2 separate regions of the Homo sapiens genome follow, and region 1 is linked to region 2. Evidence: promoter capture Hi-C in human tissues and cell types (Jung and others, 2019). All regions are on one chromosome and are shown on one strand. Each heading gives the region's core, a stretch centred on a gene start or on the middle of the fragment in contact. The rest is flanking DNA. Distances are from core to core; before and after follow the strand shown.

The links. Contacts are between HindIII fragments. The study calls those that stand out against the background at their distance.
Region 1: a fragment that was not itself captured here is called in contact with the fragment with the promoter of MTFMT in region 2 in 1 of the 25 tissues and cell types used here (aorta).

The regions. Positions count from the first base shown.
Region 1 is chr15:64,245,949-64,253,294 of GRCh38, forward strand. It overlaps CSNK1G1 (casein kinase 1 gamma 1), which reads right to left. Exons shown (of 12, transcript NM_022048.5): 4 at 5,564-5,633. Among named protein-coding and RNA genes, the nearest start is that of PPIB, 87 kb to the left of the region's middle. RefSeq lists enhancers at 31-531, 532-1,032, 1,153-1,212, 2,102-2,396. The HindIII fragment of the contact is 4,593 bases long and covers 1-3,647 here.
Region 2 is chr15:65,023,507-65,031,009 of GRCh38, forward strand. It overlaps MTFMT (mitochondrial methionyl-tRNA formyltransferase), which reads right to left and starts at 6,133. Exons shown (of 9, transcript NM_139242.4): 1 at 5,899-6,133; 2 at 3,325-3,534; 3 at 166-288. The coding sequence starts at 6,107. It also overlaps the pseudogene LOC100130437. RefSeq lists silencers at 5,546-5,845, 6,096-6,285. The HindIII fragment of the contact is 8,500 bases long and covers 1,178-7,503 here.

The sequences.
Region 1 (7,346 bases), core at 101-2,600, 780 kb before region 2:
TGTGGGGAGGATGAAGAGAGCTTGGTTAATGGGTACAAACATACAGTTAGAAGCAATAAATTCTAGTGTTGATAGCACAGCAGAGTGACTATAGTTAACAATAATTTATTGTATATTTCAAAATAGCCAGAAGAGTAGATTTGAAATGTTCCCAACACAAAGAAATGGTAAATGTTTGAGGTAATGAGTAGCTTAACCACCCTGACTTGATAATTACACATAGATATGCATGTATCAAAATATCACATATATCCCATAAATAGGTATATTATGTATCAATTTTAAAAATGAACCGCCTACTAGGTATTTAACAAGTTAACTGGCTTTCTCTGCCCAATGAGATTTTGTTTTGACTACTGCATTTGTGAAGTTTCAACTGGGGTCTTGTTAAGGCTGGACACAGTGGTTCATGCCTGTGATCCCAGCACTTTGGGCAGCCAAGGTGAGAGGATCACCTGGGGCCAAGAGTTCAAGACCAGCCTGGTCAACATAGTGAGACTCCATCCCTACAAAAAACTAAAAATATTAGCCAGCTATGGTGCATTGCGCCTGTAGTCCCAGCTACTTGGGAGGCTGAGGCGGGAGGATGACTAGAGCCAAAGAATTTGAGGCTGCAGCAAGCTACGATTGCACCACTACACTCTAGCCTCAGAATCAGAGCAAGAGTCCGTCTCTTTAAAAAAAAAAAAAAGGGGGGGGGGGAGGAATCTTGTCATTTTTTAATTTGAGGATTAGCTTCTCCTTTATAAGAGAGCCAAATCAGAAGAGTCACTAGATTACAATAGCTGCTGGGAAGCCAGGATATGGGAGCCTAGACTTAGAAATTTCAGGTTATGTCAGAGACCTCCATTTTCCTGTCATTTACTGCAAAGAATCCTATTATCCTGCCGTTTACCTACCCTCTAAACCCTCAATCCTCTTTCATTTGCTCTGGTCCTTGCTGACTCATCCCCTCCCTCCCTTTTTCCTCCCACTTCAGCTGCATGCTTGGTTCTGGCTTATTCATCTTCTAGTCAATTAACGAACATATACCACGCTGTTGTCATGTGGTCAGCTATGGAGTCATTCTCATACTGTCACTCTTCCTAATACGGATCTGTTTCGGCCACAGACTCTTTCATATCTCTGCCCCAAACCTCTCATCCACCAAATCTTGTTCCTGTGTGCTAGAATACAAGCAAAACTGAGAGCTATGCTGGAAAAAAGATTTATGGATTGGAAAATTTTTAAATTGATAATGTATGTATCTTCCTAAGTAAAAGACCCTAAGGAAATACTGAAACCTAAAATCATTCCCATAAAAAGAAAAGAAATTAAAACTTGCCTATGGTGACCATAATACAATTAACATAACATTGATGATTGAAGAAAATAAGAAAAATAGTTATAAGATTTTACAATTTGGTTTCTATAAGAAATGAAAAAATGATAGCTAACAGGAAAATAAAATGCTTATTCTCAGTTTCAAGGTTCTCATGGTCCCCTTTACTTTCTTCCCTGATTATCTTGGAGATATCAATTCTTAAGCATTAAGTCTTGAAAATCTTGGTGGTAAAACTGTAATCAAGAAACAAAGCTTGAAAAGTGTGACCACTCACTAGAAAACAAAGTGGAATGGAAGAGAAAGAGTTAGAGATCACACAAGGAAAAGCAGAGACAATGTGGAAGACCTCCAACCAGAACCACATTCACAATTACCCAGTGCTGTCATTTTTGTTCTATCTCTACATAATTAGAGAATTGGTATGAATTTCTAGATCAGGTCATCAATGTGAAACTGGGGTCCAAAAGGCCAAGGTAATGATTAAGAGTTGGGTACTGAAGAAAATGGTCATAGTCCCAGGACAACAAAAAGTTCCTATTTTAGGAATTTAATGTCTCAAGCTCTGGATATCACAGCAATAGGTATTCTTTAAATTCATAATCAATCATTTTTCCCAAATAATTTCATACATTTATAAGCAATGATTAATTCACTGAACAAACCTAAGTCACAATGGGCTTTTTGTTTAAGTATTCATTGTCAGGAAATCCAAATATTTTATAATTCACTGGACAGTAATGAACAATGACAGACAAAACACTAGTGAGTAAAAACACTAATTATGTTACTGTGGTCTTTGTGTGGCTTTGGCACAAAAGGTTGTTTATTTACAATGCTGCAACATCACCTTGGTAATCAAAAGAGTGGCATATGCGCACTGGCTGCTCAAACATTAACTACCAATGAGTCATACTTGCAGCTGAGAACTTACTCTGAAAAAATAGGGGGAGGAATGCTGTGCCTCTAAGTTAAAAACAAGCTCTGGTGTTCATGCTCACATTTACAAGGACACATGGTGAAATCTTGTCTATTTTCTTGTCAATTGATCTTCTTTCAAAATAAATTTCCTTTTTTTAACCATCACAAGGAATATTTTTATTAATAACATTGGTAAAAATCTAAAAAGGCAAGCTTATTAAATCTTTCTAACTTCTTTCTGCCACTGAACTACTTGCTGACTGCTATGTGACAGAATGACATCACACCAGGCCTTAAGATACGCTTGAGATACAAGGGTAAAGAAGACACAAGGCTTGTTTTCAAGGAGCTTATAATCTTATGGCAGGGAGTGGGGAGAGTGGGACCAATATGCAATTACAATAAAAAAATAGTCAATGCCTAATCATCAATAGGATAATATAATCAGGATTTTAAAAATATCCCAATGTTCTTCCTCATCTGGACTCTGGAAAAAATAAAATAAAAAATATGGCCAGGCACGGCGGCTCACATCTGTAATCCCAGCACTTAGAGAGGGCGAGGCAGGCAGATCACGAGGTCAGGAGATCAAGACCATCCTGGCCAACATGGTGAAACCCCGTCTCTACTAAAAAAATACAAAAAATTGGCCAGGCGTGGTGGCTCACGCCTGTAATCCCAGCACTTTGGGAGGCCGAGGCAGGCGGATCACGAGGTCAGGAGATCGAGACCATCCTGGCTAACATGGTGAAACCCCGTCTCTATTAAAATTACAAAAAAAAACTAGCTGGGCATGGTGGCGGGCGCCTGTAGGCCCAGCTACTCGGGAGGCTGAGGAGGAGAATGGCGTGAACCCGGGAAGCGGAAGTTGCAGTGAGCCGAGATAGTGCCACTGCACTCCAGCCTGGTGACATAGCAAGACTCCATCTAAATTTTAAAAATAATAAATATATAAATAAATGGCAAACTTGGGCCTAATATGAAGAACTTCAAATACACTGGACTTTCCCACATTAAATTAGCCTGAAGAGTGGTGAACTCTATGATTAGAACTAAGTAGTCAAGCCGATTTAGATGACTGTAAGAAAATCCTAAAAGTAATTCTTACACTAGCGGGTAGGGGTAGCAAGGGGATTTGAAACAGAAAACTAAAGCACTTCCTATCTTGGAAAAGTCTGCAGCTACCTTGTTAGTTGCAGGCAAGGGTATTAAGATGATGCCCACCGCAGCTATTTTAGAAGTAGTGGGTGATCTCAAGAAGCAGAAAAGAGGCCAGTAGTCACCACTGAACTGCATATAGGACCTAGAAGGCTTTGTGACCTTTACATGTTTGTTAGAAAAGGTACTGGGAGACAGACCAACGATGGCCAGCCTACCTGACTATGAGTCAACAGTTGGCCTAACCAGTACAACAGAGCCCTCCTATTCCCACTCATGACAATGATGGATATACCAGTCTCAGAGATTCCAGTTTTTCCTTGCTGCTTAAGTGAAAAGCAATTTGTATAGTCACCTTTCCTCTAATGCCCTCCCTGTTTACTCCTCGCTTTCAGTGCACAGAGAATGCTGAAACTTCAAGAGCTTGCAATTTTCTGTATTTGGGAAGAGTACCAACCCAGCAGCACAGATGTTATTCCTACCTAACAAATACATTAGATTTTTTTTGGCTCTATATTGAAAAGGGAAGATTGGTCTGATTTGGTGGATCTATTTGAAAGGGCTTACAGAGGAAATCCTGAAAACTGGCCTGTCCACTTCCCCACTTAAACTTCTAAGCTGGACTGGATTAAGCATGTTGTTACCTGACCCTTGGATTTATGAGACATATACAAACATGCTTATCATAAATGGGCTGTGACAGTCTTTTCCCTAAAACTTATGAAACCTAGAATAACTTAACAACATTATAAAACCAGGAATGTAAGAGGAACAACAATTAAAATGTAGTCCTGGGGCATGTGGGAAGATAAGCCTCAAGTTATGTATACACCCTGTGAACTCAGTTGCCAGTCTTAAATCTTATGCCAAAAACACTCCAATCAATTAACAAATATATACTGAGAGGCTACTGTGAGCAAGAATTCATATTAAGTTCAATGAAAGACAAGTCCATTGTGGGCTCCCTGGGTTATAACTATAGCTGATTATTGCTATAGTCAGGGTATAATAAAACTTGAATAACACACAATGACTCATATAATTCTAAATATTTTAGGATGCAGAACTCAAATTCCTTCAGTAGTACCTTCATAGGGTTACTTGAAATAGAACAAACAGTATGATGGCTCATGCCTGTAATCCCAGCATTTTGGGAGGCTGAAGGCAGGAGGATCACTTGAGCCCAGGAGTTCAAGACCAGCCTGGGCAACATGGCAAAACCCCATCTCTACTAAAAATACAGAAAATTAGCCTGGTGTGGTGGTGCATGCCTACAGTACCAGCTACTCAGGAGGCTGAGGCAGGAGAACTGCTTGAGCCTAGAAGGCCCAGGCTGCAGTGAGCCGTGATCGTGCCACTGCACTCCAGTCTGGGTGATGGGAGTGAGACCCTGTCTCCAAAACAAGAAAGAAAGAAAGAAAAAAAAAATAGAAACCAAGCTTTAGTCATTCATATAAAACCTGTCACAGTGAAGGGGGCATAAAGCAGAGGAAATTCTACTAATGTCAAATAGTGAAAATAGCTCTGAAAGATTTCATCTTCTGAGAGACTTGTCCCTACAGGTAAACATTAGCAAAACATTTTTCTGGAAGCCAGTAAGATATTTGAGAAATTAGAGCTTTTTGGTAAAAACAAACATTTTTTACAGTGATTAACTTAATTTTTAAAAATTGCCGAAGGTCATAGGTTATTACAATCATATGGATAGCTCTTGCAAATTAATGAGGACAATGGATAAAATGACGGTTCTGTAATATTTCAGAATGTATATTTTAGTATGTCTTCAAAACAGATAAACCATCTCAGTATGGTAAAGTATATTTTGCAAATTACCAACATTTCCTCCTTTCTTTTGGTATAAGTAAAGAAAAGAGAATGAACTGCTGAAAAGCAAATCCTTCACACTATGAGTATTTGACAAGTGGAAGGCATCTGCAGGTTGGTCTGTGGGCATAGTCATAGCAACACAGTTCCCCTGTCAACTCAACTCCAGGAACCAGAGCGCAAGTAGCTTTGTGGTTGACTATGTTTATTTACCTATCCGGCAAGCAGGGGAGATAGATGGTTTGGTAAAAAGGGCAAACCAGACAAAAAAATTTGTATATTTTAGGGCTTCCAGCTAAGATACATACTAAGTAAGTGGAGAGAAAAGACTTGACTTACCTGCACTGCCAAGCTGTTTATAAAATCTGTACTCTAAATGAAGCTGTGGAGCACGTGATTTTATTGGTTCCTGAAATCCAAAAAGAAAAACTGTGATCAGATTTAAACAAATGGGATTTTTCCATTCTTAAATTTTTGGAGTAAACGAGGGCTAAGATCACCCAATGTTTTAGAGATAATATCCATATATAAGAGCCTTTTCTAACCACAATTGGTCTTGGACAGTATAGCTAAGAGAAGATGAAGGTGAATTACATACAAGTCCTTCCATGGATAGTTAAATAAAAATAGACTTTGCATGAGCTATCATTCAAGGATATCTTTCTTGCAATGAAATATTCTCCTGGAATGTATTCTGCCAGGAAACTTGATGCCAAACCTTTAAATAAAAAAATACCAGAATGTATTTCCTGCTTGTTTTGTTCAGAATTTTGGGTGGTTCATGGTTTTATTATTTTTAGAAAAATAATGCATGCTCAGAAGAAAATTCAAATATACAAAAATTAGGAAGAAAGTAAAAATCATCTGTGATCCTGTCACTTTAAAGAGAGGCACTATTAACATTTTAGTGAATGTCTTTCAAAGTATTTATTTATCTATATATGTATTAATATATATAATATAGACTAATGAACTTAATTTTATATAAATGAGATTATAATATATTTGCTGTTCATTAATGTGCTATTGAATTCAACAATGTAATAACATATTCCCATGGCGGTAAATAAACGTGTATAATTTCTTTTTTTTTTTAAGACAGGGTCTTGCACACTGCAGTCAAAACCTCCCAGGCTCAAGTCATCCTCCTATCTTAGCCTCCCGAGTGGCTGGGACCACAAGTGTGTGCCACCACTCACAGCTAATTTTTAATTTTTTGTAGAGATAGGATCTTACTATGCTGCCTAGGCTGGTCCCAAATTCCTGGGCTCAAGCAATCCTCCCACTTCAGCCACCCAAAGTGCTGTGGGATTATAGGCATAAGCCACTGCACCTGGCTTATATTATTTTAATGGTTTGAGTATTGCCCTGTATGTGGATATGTATTTATGTATGTATGTATACACACCCTCCCCATAATTTTTGGACACGTGAACTGTTTTCATTTTCCAATATTATGAACAATGCTTTTAGGAACATCCTTATGTATATTTCTTTTTAAACTATTGAGAATTAAAGATTGTAAATGCAATTAAAATATGTAACTTCAATCAATGTGGTGTTCAAGTTTCCAAAAATGGAGTTTTCTAAAAACCTCAGAGATAAAGCAGCCAAACAACCATACTTTGCTCTATACCAATTGAGCAACTGGCTGGCTGATTATTCTAAACTGACAGTGTACTGGGCAACTGGCTAACAAGAAAACCAAACATTACCCTAAACACATTATAATCTCTCTTTAAAACCTCAACAGTAGCTGACATGGTGGCTCATGTCTGCCAACCCAGCACTTTCAGAGGCTGAGGCAGGAGGATCACTGGAGACCAGGAGTTTAAGACCAGCCTGGGCAACACAGCAAAACCTCATCTTTACAAATAAATAAATAAAATAGGACGGGCATGGTGGCTCATGCCTGTAATCCCAGCACTTTGGGAGGCTGAGACGGCAGAACTGTTTGAGCCCAGGGGTTCGAGACCAGCCTGGGCAACATAGGGAGACCTTGTCTCTACCAAAAATTAAAAAATTAGCCTGGCAGGGAGGCACGCTCCTGTAGTCCCAGCTACTCAGGAGGATGAGGTGGGAGGATTGCTTGAGTCCCAGAGATCAAGACTGCAGGGAGCTG
Region 2 (7,503 bases), core at 4,883-7,382:
TTTATGTTAGAAACCAGGAGAAAACAGAAAGGATATAAAAGCAGAAGAAGCACTCTGGAGTCACAGAAATTAGTGAGCACCACCCATTCATCCACTGCCCCCCAAACAGGCTGACATCAACATTTAAAAATCACAAAAATCTCAAGAAAGGAAAATATGTGCTACCTTTTAGGTCTAATTTGCATAATTGTTACTCCAGTAACTGTGTCTCCGTGAAGCACTGTATGGATTACAGGGGCTGGGCCACGCCATCTCGGGAGGCAACTGGGATGAACATTCAATATGCCACTGAGTTAGAAAATGTAGAAATTAGTATGTCAGTGGGCTTTACCACTTCGTTACCACTACCTAAGCTATTATGCTACTTTTCATTAGGAAACTTTCCCAGAAATTTGGAAAAACTGACAGTTAAATCTAAGTCTCGTATCACCTGAAAGGAAAAAAGTTACATGTAAATTCACTCTCTTACCATAAGAAACCAATGACATTTAATTAAAAACAGAGCTAGGACAACTATTTGCTGTTCTAAAGATGTTCTGTCTGGGTGTGGTGGCTCATGCCTGTAATCCCAGCACTTTGAGAGGCCGAGGCGGGCGGATCACTTGAGATCGGGAGTTTGAGACCAGCCGGACCAACATGGAGAAACCCCATCTCTACTAAAAAGACAAAATTAGCCAGGTGTGGTGGCGCATGCCTGTAATCCCAGCTACTCGGAAGGCTGAGACAGGAGAATCGCTTGAACCTGGGAGGCAGAGGTGCAGTGAACCGAGATCACGCCATTGCACTCCAGCCTGGGCAACAAGAGCGAAACTCCGTCGCAAAATCTACAACAGCCCATGATGTCTGGGAGTTTTTAAATAAAATTTTAAAATGCATTTATGACTATAAGAGAACCACTCAAACCCTATTATGCATCTCATGAACAATTCTAATTTTATAGTTTAGTCACATAACTATCCTCACTTCACTTGGTTTACATACAGACTGCCTAAAATAAGCTTTTTCTTTTTTTTTTTAATTTTTTTTTGAGACAGGGTCTCGCTCTGTTGCCCAGGCTGGATGGCTCACTGCAGCCTCAACCTCCCAAGCTCAGGAGATCCTCAGCCCAATCCAACATTCACTGAGCGCACTCCATGTGCAGACACTGTTCTAAGTGTTAGGCATACAAGCAGCAGTGAACCAGACAGAAAAAAAAAATCCTGCCCTCAGAGAGTTTATGTACAAAAAGTGGGAGATAAGCAAGAAAAAACAAAATATGTACAAGGTTTGCCAGATGATGCTGAGGGCTATGGAGAAAATAAAGCAGAGAGGACTATGAGGGGGACATATTACAATTTTAGTAGTGATCAGAGAAAGCTTTACCAACAAGAAAACACTTGAACAAGAACATGAAGAAGGAAATAACTACGCATATATATGGGAGAAAAGCATTCCAGGCAGAGGGAACATTAAGTACAAAGATCTTGAAGAAGGTAAATGCTCGGCAAATTCAAGGCACAGCTGGGAGGCCAGTTAGGCCTGGCCTTTTATTGAGTAAGACAGAAAATTACCAGAGGATTTTGAGCAGAGTGACATGATCTGACTTGTTTTAAAAGGATCACTTTGAGGCAGGGTACAGTGGCTCATGCCTGTAATCCCAAAACTTTGGGAGGCCAAGGCAGGAAGATCACATGCAGCCAGGAGTTTGGGACCAGGTTGGGCCACATAGCGAGATCCCTGTCTCTAAAAAAAAAAAAAAAAAAAAAAGAGTTAGCTGGGTGTGTTGGCACATTCCTATAGTCTCAGCTACTCAGAAGGCTGAGGCAGGAAGATCCCTTGAGTCTGGGGCTGCAGTGAGTTATGATAGCAACACTGTACTCCAGCCTGGGTGACAGCAAGACTGTCTCTAAATTAAACAATAAAATAGAAATAAATAAATAAATAAATAAATACATTTTGGCTGCTGGATTGGTAAAAGACTGAGAGGGCCAAGGACAGAAGTAGGGACCAGTTAGGAGGCTTCTGTAGTAATGTAGGCGAGAGTGGCAGCAGCGGAAGTGATGAGATACAGACAGATTCTACACAGATTTTGAAGGCAGAGCCAATAGGATTTACTGATGGATTGGATATGGGACGTAAGAAATCAAGCATGACTCCAGGATTTTGGTGCAAGCAGCTAGAATGATGGAGTAGCCATTTATTGAGATAAAGATTTTAGGAGATGCTTTGGGTATCTTGAATGTAAAGTGGCTATCAGACATCCAGGAAGAGCTGTGGAGGCAGTAGGTATTAGGGGACTAGAGTTTGGGGACCGAGCTGAGCTAGAGGGACCAATTTGGGCGTTGTCAGCATATATATGGAATTTAAATGAAGGTGGATGAAAGCCTATAGAGGGTGATAAGGAGTTAAATACATTTTGACAACTCATGCCACAAATAAAATGTTCTTTAGTACTTGAAAAGAAAATATCAGGCCGAGTCATGTGTCAGCCAAATATGGCTGTGCCCAGGCGAGTTGAGCAAAGGCTTCAGTGAGCCCGGGCATGGCTGAAGACGACCTGGGGAGGCACCAACCAGCTGCTGGGAGAAGAGCATAAGGCTCAAGATGGAAAATCATAAATCTAATACTATCAAGGAAAACTTAACAATCTTTGATATCATAACCAGAAAAATTAACCAGCTTCCACAAGCAGAAAGGAATCTACCTGAAGAGGGATCAGCATATGTTGGATTTAATGCTCTCTGTGGCCTCATAGCAAATGGTCTTTTTCAATGCGTCTTGAACATGACACAGGCTCTTACAGCTGCTGGCTTACCAATGGCAGTGATCCCTTTTCTTACAACAAACACAGCTTACAAAAGTTTTGTAAATTTTCCTTCGAATACAGGTGATTTGAATTGTGAAACGTGTACCATAACACAGAGTGGATTGGTCTTGCTTTTGGTGGTCTATACCCTCTTTTCTTGTCTATACCTGTGACTGGAGGCCTAGCAGCCTGGTATGAATCAACTCTGTTACCAGAGAAAGGGAACATCTTAAGTTACTGGATTCAAATTTATAAGCCTGTCTTTAGAAAGATGTTATTTCCTATTGTGTTCCAGACTGTGTTTGCAGCATTCCTTGGGTTTAAACAATATAAACTACTTCTAAAGGCCCTTCAGTTACCTGAACCTGGCAGAGAAATTCATTGACTTTAAGCAAACATGTACAGAAAAATAAAATGGTAAAAATAAAAAAAGAAAATATTACAGAAAGCATAGAGTTCAAATTATCACATTTTATATACAAGGTCCATTTATAAAGACCAAGGTTTCTATACTGTATTTCCTTACAAATAAAACTTACTAGGGAAATTTAAGAATAAGAGCCTCATTCAAAAGTCGGCCAAACGAAGCCACTACTCCAACATCATATTCTCCAGATCCCACATCCGGCCACTCATATACGGGAAGCTGAGACTGCACAGCATATTGCTTCACTGGCAGTCCTTTTGGTGATGGGGAAGGCATTGTGACCACCTCCAGTTTGTCGATTAACTCTTCTTCTTTGTTTTCCCTAAATTAGATAGGAAGAAAAATGTGACAGTGTTAAGGCAATGACTCAAAGCTAAAACTACTTCACATATCGCTAAGTATGTTTATGATTAATCTCATGAAGCATTTAGGGCTAAATGATTAAAACTAGTGTGAGAGACTGAGTTTTCATTTTTTCTTTTTCTTTTTTTTTTTTTGAGCTGGAGTCTCACTCTGTCACCCAGGCTGGAGTGCAGTGGAGCGATCTCAGCTCACTGCAACCTCTGCCCCCTAGGTTCAAGCGATTATCCTGCCTCAGTCTCCCGAATAGCTGGGATTACAGGCATGCACCACCACACCCAGCTAATTTTTGTGTTTTTTAGTGGAGGCAGGGTTTCCCCATGTTGGCCAGGCTGGTCTCCAACTCCTGACCTCAAGTGATCCGTCCGCCTCCACCTCCCAAAGTGCTGGGATTACAGGCGTGAACACCGTGCCCAGCCTCAGTTTTCATTTTTTATTTAATTTTAATTATTTAAAATGTAAAGAGTGACACGTGGCTAGTGGCTACTGTTTGAACAGTATCATTCTAGGGATTTCCTGTGCATACAGAAACATATACAGTATGGATACTTTACACAACTGGGATATTACATACTGCTTTGCATTTTTTTTCCTTTTAACAATGCTATATATGCTATTATGTGTCTTTTTGAAAAATGGGTTAAATATACGTATATTTGTATATTCACTGAACATTTCTAGAAGGAACTGAAAACAGTGGCTGTCTCTGGATAAAGGAACTGGGAACTGCTAAACAGAGGTGGAAGGAAGTAACTTTTCACTGTATATCCTTTGAATCCATGGAACTTTTTTACCATAACCATGATGCCATTCAAACACTACTTTTTAAAAAACAAACAAAAATACATAACATGGCTATCATTCCATGGCAGTACCTGTAGCACTACCTCATCCTTTCTACCTGCTGCATAGCATTCTAGTACCCAGGGGGGTACATTTATTAAACAGGTATTGTATGTACACGTTGAGGAGTTATGAGGAGTATGTCCTGGGGCACTATAAAGAAAGCACAGGAGTAATGGAGCTGCCAAGTGAAGCATCATCAGAAGTATCAGGATAGGCCAGGAATGATGGCTCAGGCCTGTAATCTCAGCACTTTGGGAGGCCAAGGTGAGAGGATCACTTGATCCCAGGAGTTTGAGATAAGCCTGGGCAACATGGTGAAAACCCGCCTCTACAAAAAATTTAAAAATCAGGCGTGGTGGTGCACGCCCGTAGTCCTAGCTACTCTGGAAGCTGAGATGGGATGATTGCTTGATCTTTGAGGTCGAGGCTGCAGTGAGCTATGAGCCGGCCACTGCACTCCAGCCTGGGGGACAGCGCGAGACCTCGCCTCAGAAACAAACAAAAAAAGTGTTGGTATAAATGTATAAATGCAGTGAGAGACGCATGTGACAACAGCAGCCCATGAAGGGTGTGCAAAGGGAACATGGGGTTTCCTTCCGGGTGTGTGCACAGAGGGGTGTGTGGAGGAAGGAAAACCACACAGGGGATTGACGAAGGATTCAATACATGAGGGGCTGCTGTGAAGTATCTGTAGGGAAAAGGAGATGGAGATGACCAAAAAAAGTGGAAGGAGGACTGCGTCAGAAAAAAACAGAATGGGGAAATAAAAAACATTAATTGGGAAAAAGAGGCAGAGAAGTATATACGGTATTGCCACCACATACCATGGACTCTCAGGACTGGTTGGATTTCAAATAATTTTCTTTCCCAGTAAACAAAACTTGTTAAATATTATGAATACTAAATGTATACCTAACAGTTCTGATTTATAAATTTATTCTTTTGAAAACAGGTCGTTTTTGGACTATGTCCTTGTATACAAGGAGCACAGGGGGAGCAAAAGAGCGAGACACGGGTGTGCCGAAGGATGGGGGTCAGGAGGAACTGCAAAGCAGGGAACTTTGAAGTGGGACCTGGTTTTAGTCCGAACCACCTCGGCTGATGACCTTGGGCAATCGCATAACCTCTCTGAGCCACGGATTCCCCACACTCAAAACGGGCAGGGAGGCCGTGGGACTGGCCCGGGGGATGCAGGCAGAGCGCCCAGCCCCAGCTCGGCACAGCGTGGGTGGCAGGGCGCCTGGAGAACCCACAGAGGCGGCGGGGAGTGAGGGGCGCAGACCGCAGGTACTAGGCGCCCAAAGGCTGACCGGCGGGAATGGCGCACCTTCTGGGAGCCAGAAGACGCCGAGATCTGGGCCCACACCGCTCTGCCGCCCATGCTTTCCGCAACCAGAAGTCCAAAACCCTCGGGGCCGGCCGCCCGGGCGCGGCCTGGAGGCCTTCAGCGGCCGGGTCCCCGGATCCCTGGCCCGGGTACCTGGCGGCGTGCAGCGCCCGCAGCGCCTCGCGGGCGAACTGGTCCGTGCCGAAGAAGAGCACCCGCCAGGGAGGCTTCTCGCGGACTCTGGAGTCCCGGCAGTCCTCCCAGCCGAGTCGGGCCAGTGCTCGCCACTGGGGACTCGGCCTCCCACGCCTGGCGCCATGAGCCAGCGGAGGACCCCAACAGCGCCGCACCAACACCCTCATCGCCTCGGCCGCCGGCGGCCGGCCCTGCGCAGGCGCATCGGGGCGGGGACAAGGGTGCAGCCTGGGGAGGGCGGGGCTTGCCTGCTTGGAGGCGGGGTCTGGTTGGAGTTGGTGAACGAATTTGCCCGCTACAGCGGCCCTAGATTTTTGTTCTGTTTATTTGCACTATGTAGCCAATCCTCCAGAATAAGTCTTTCTTTTCTTTTTAAAATCGCTTTATTTATTTATTTATTTATTTATTTATTTATTTCAGAAAGGGTCTTGCTCTGTCGCGCAGGCTGGAGTGCTGTGGCGCGATCTCTGCTTACTGCAACCTCACTGCTCCTGGGCTCAAGGGATCCTCCCACCTCAGCCTCCGGAGTAGCTGGGGTACAGGCACACATCACCATGCTGGGCTGATTTTTTGTAGAGAGAGTATCTCACTATGTTGCCCAGGTCTCAAGCAATCCTCCTGCCTTGGCCTCCCCAAGTGCTGGGGTTACAGGCGTGAGCCACTGCGCCGGCCCAGGATAAGTCTTTTGGTAACAAATCGTGCATGTTTTCAGACAATGAAACCTCATGTATATAGTGCATGTCATTTCCTCAACCATTATAACCAATATTTGCTGAGTACTTCACTCCGTGCCACGTTTTTGCTAAGCATTTTATATTCATTATTCTGGTTAATCATCAGATCAACCTTAGGAGGTAGATACTATTACAAATATGTTACTGAAGAGAAACTGAAGCTCCGTGAAATTAAGGACTTACCAGTGTATAAGGTCCACACAGCTAGTAAAGGACAGAGCAGAGGTGGGACTCTTGTAATTCCAACGCTTGTAATCCTAGCCGTTGGGCCTTCTCAGCGATCCTATGTATTAGGCAAGTCAATTACCCACATTTTGCACCTGAGGAAACTGAGCCTTAGTTACTTGTCTGCAGTTACTTTCTTGAATCGAAGGCTCCATCTTTACTCCTCCCCTGTGGGTTCCTTTGCACACAGAAGGATACCATAGAGGTGATTCCTAGGGAAATGGACAGGGAACCTTATCCCCAGAAGACCTCCGAGGACCGTTAGTGCTTAGATTCTGTATCCCCAAAGCCTCCTTGAGTGGAGTCAGACATCCATGAAACAGGATCTGAGCAGAGACTGAAACCGAATTTTGTTCTAATCTTATTCTCACCACCATTTTTTTTTTTTTTTTTTTTTTTTTTGAGATGGAGTCTCGCTCTGTTTTTCAGGCTGGAGGGCAGTGGCGGGCGATCTTGGCTCACTGCAACCGCTGCTTCCCAGGTTCAGGCGATTCTCCTGCCTCAGCCTCCCAAGTAGCTGGGACATGCGCCACTACACCTAGCTAATTTTTGTATTTTTAGTAGAGATGGGATTCACTATGTTGACCAGGCTGGTCTTGAACTC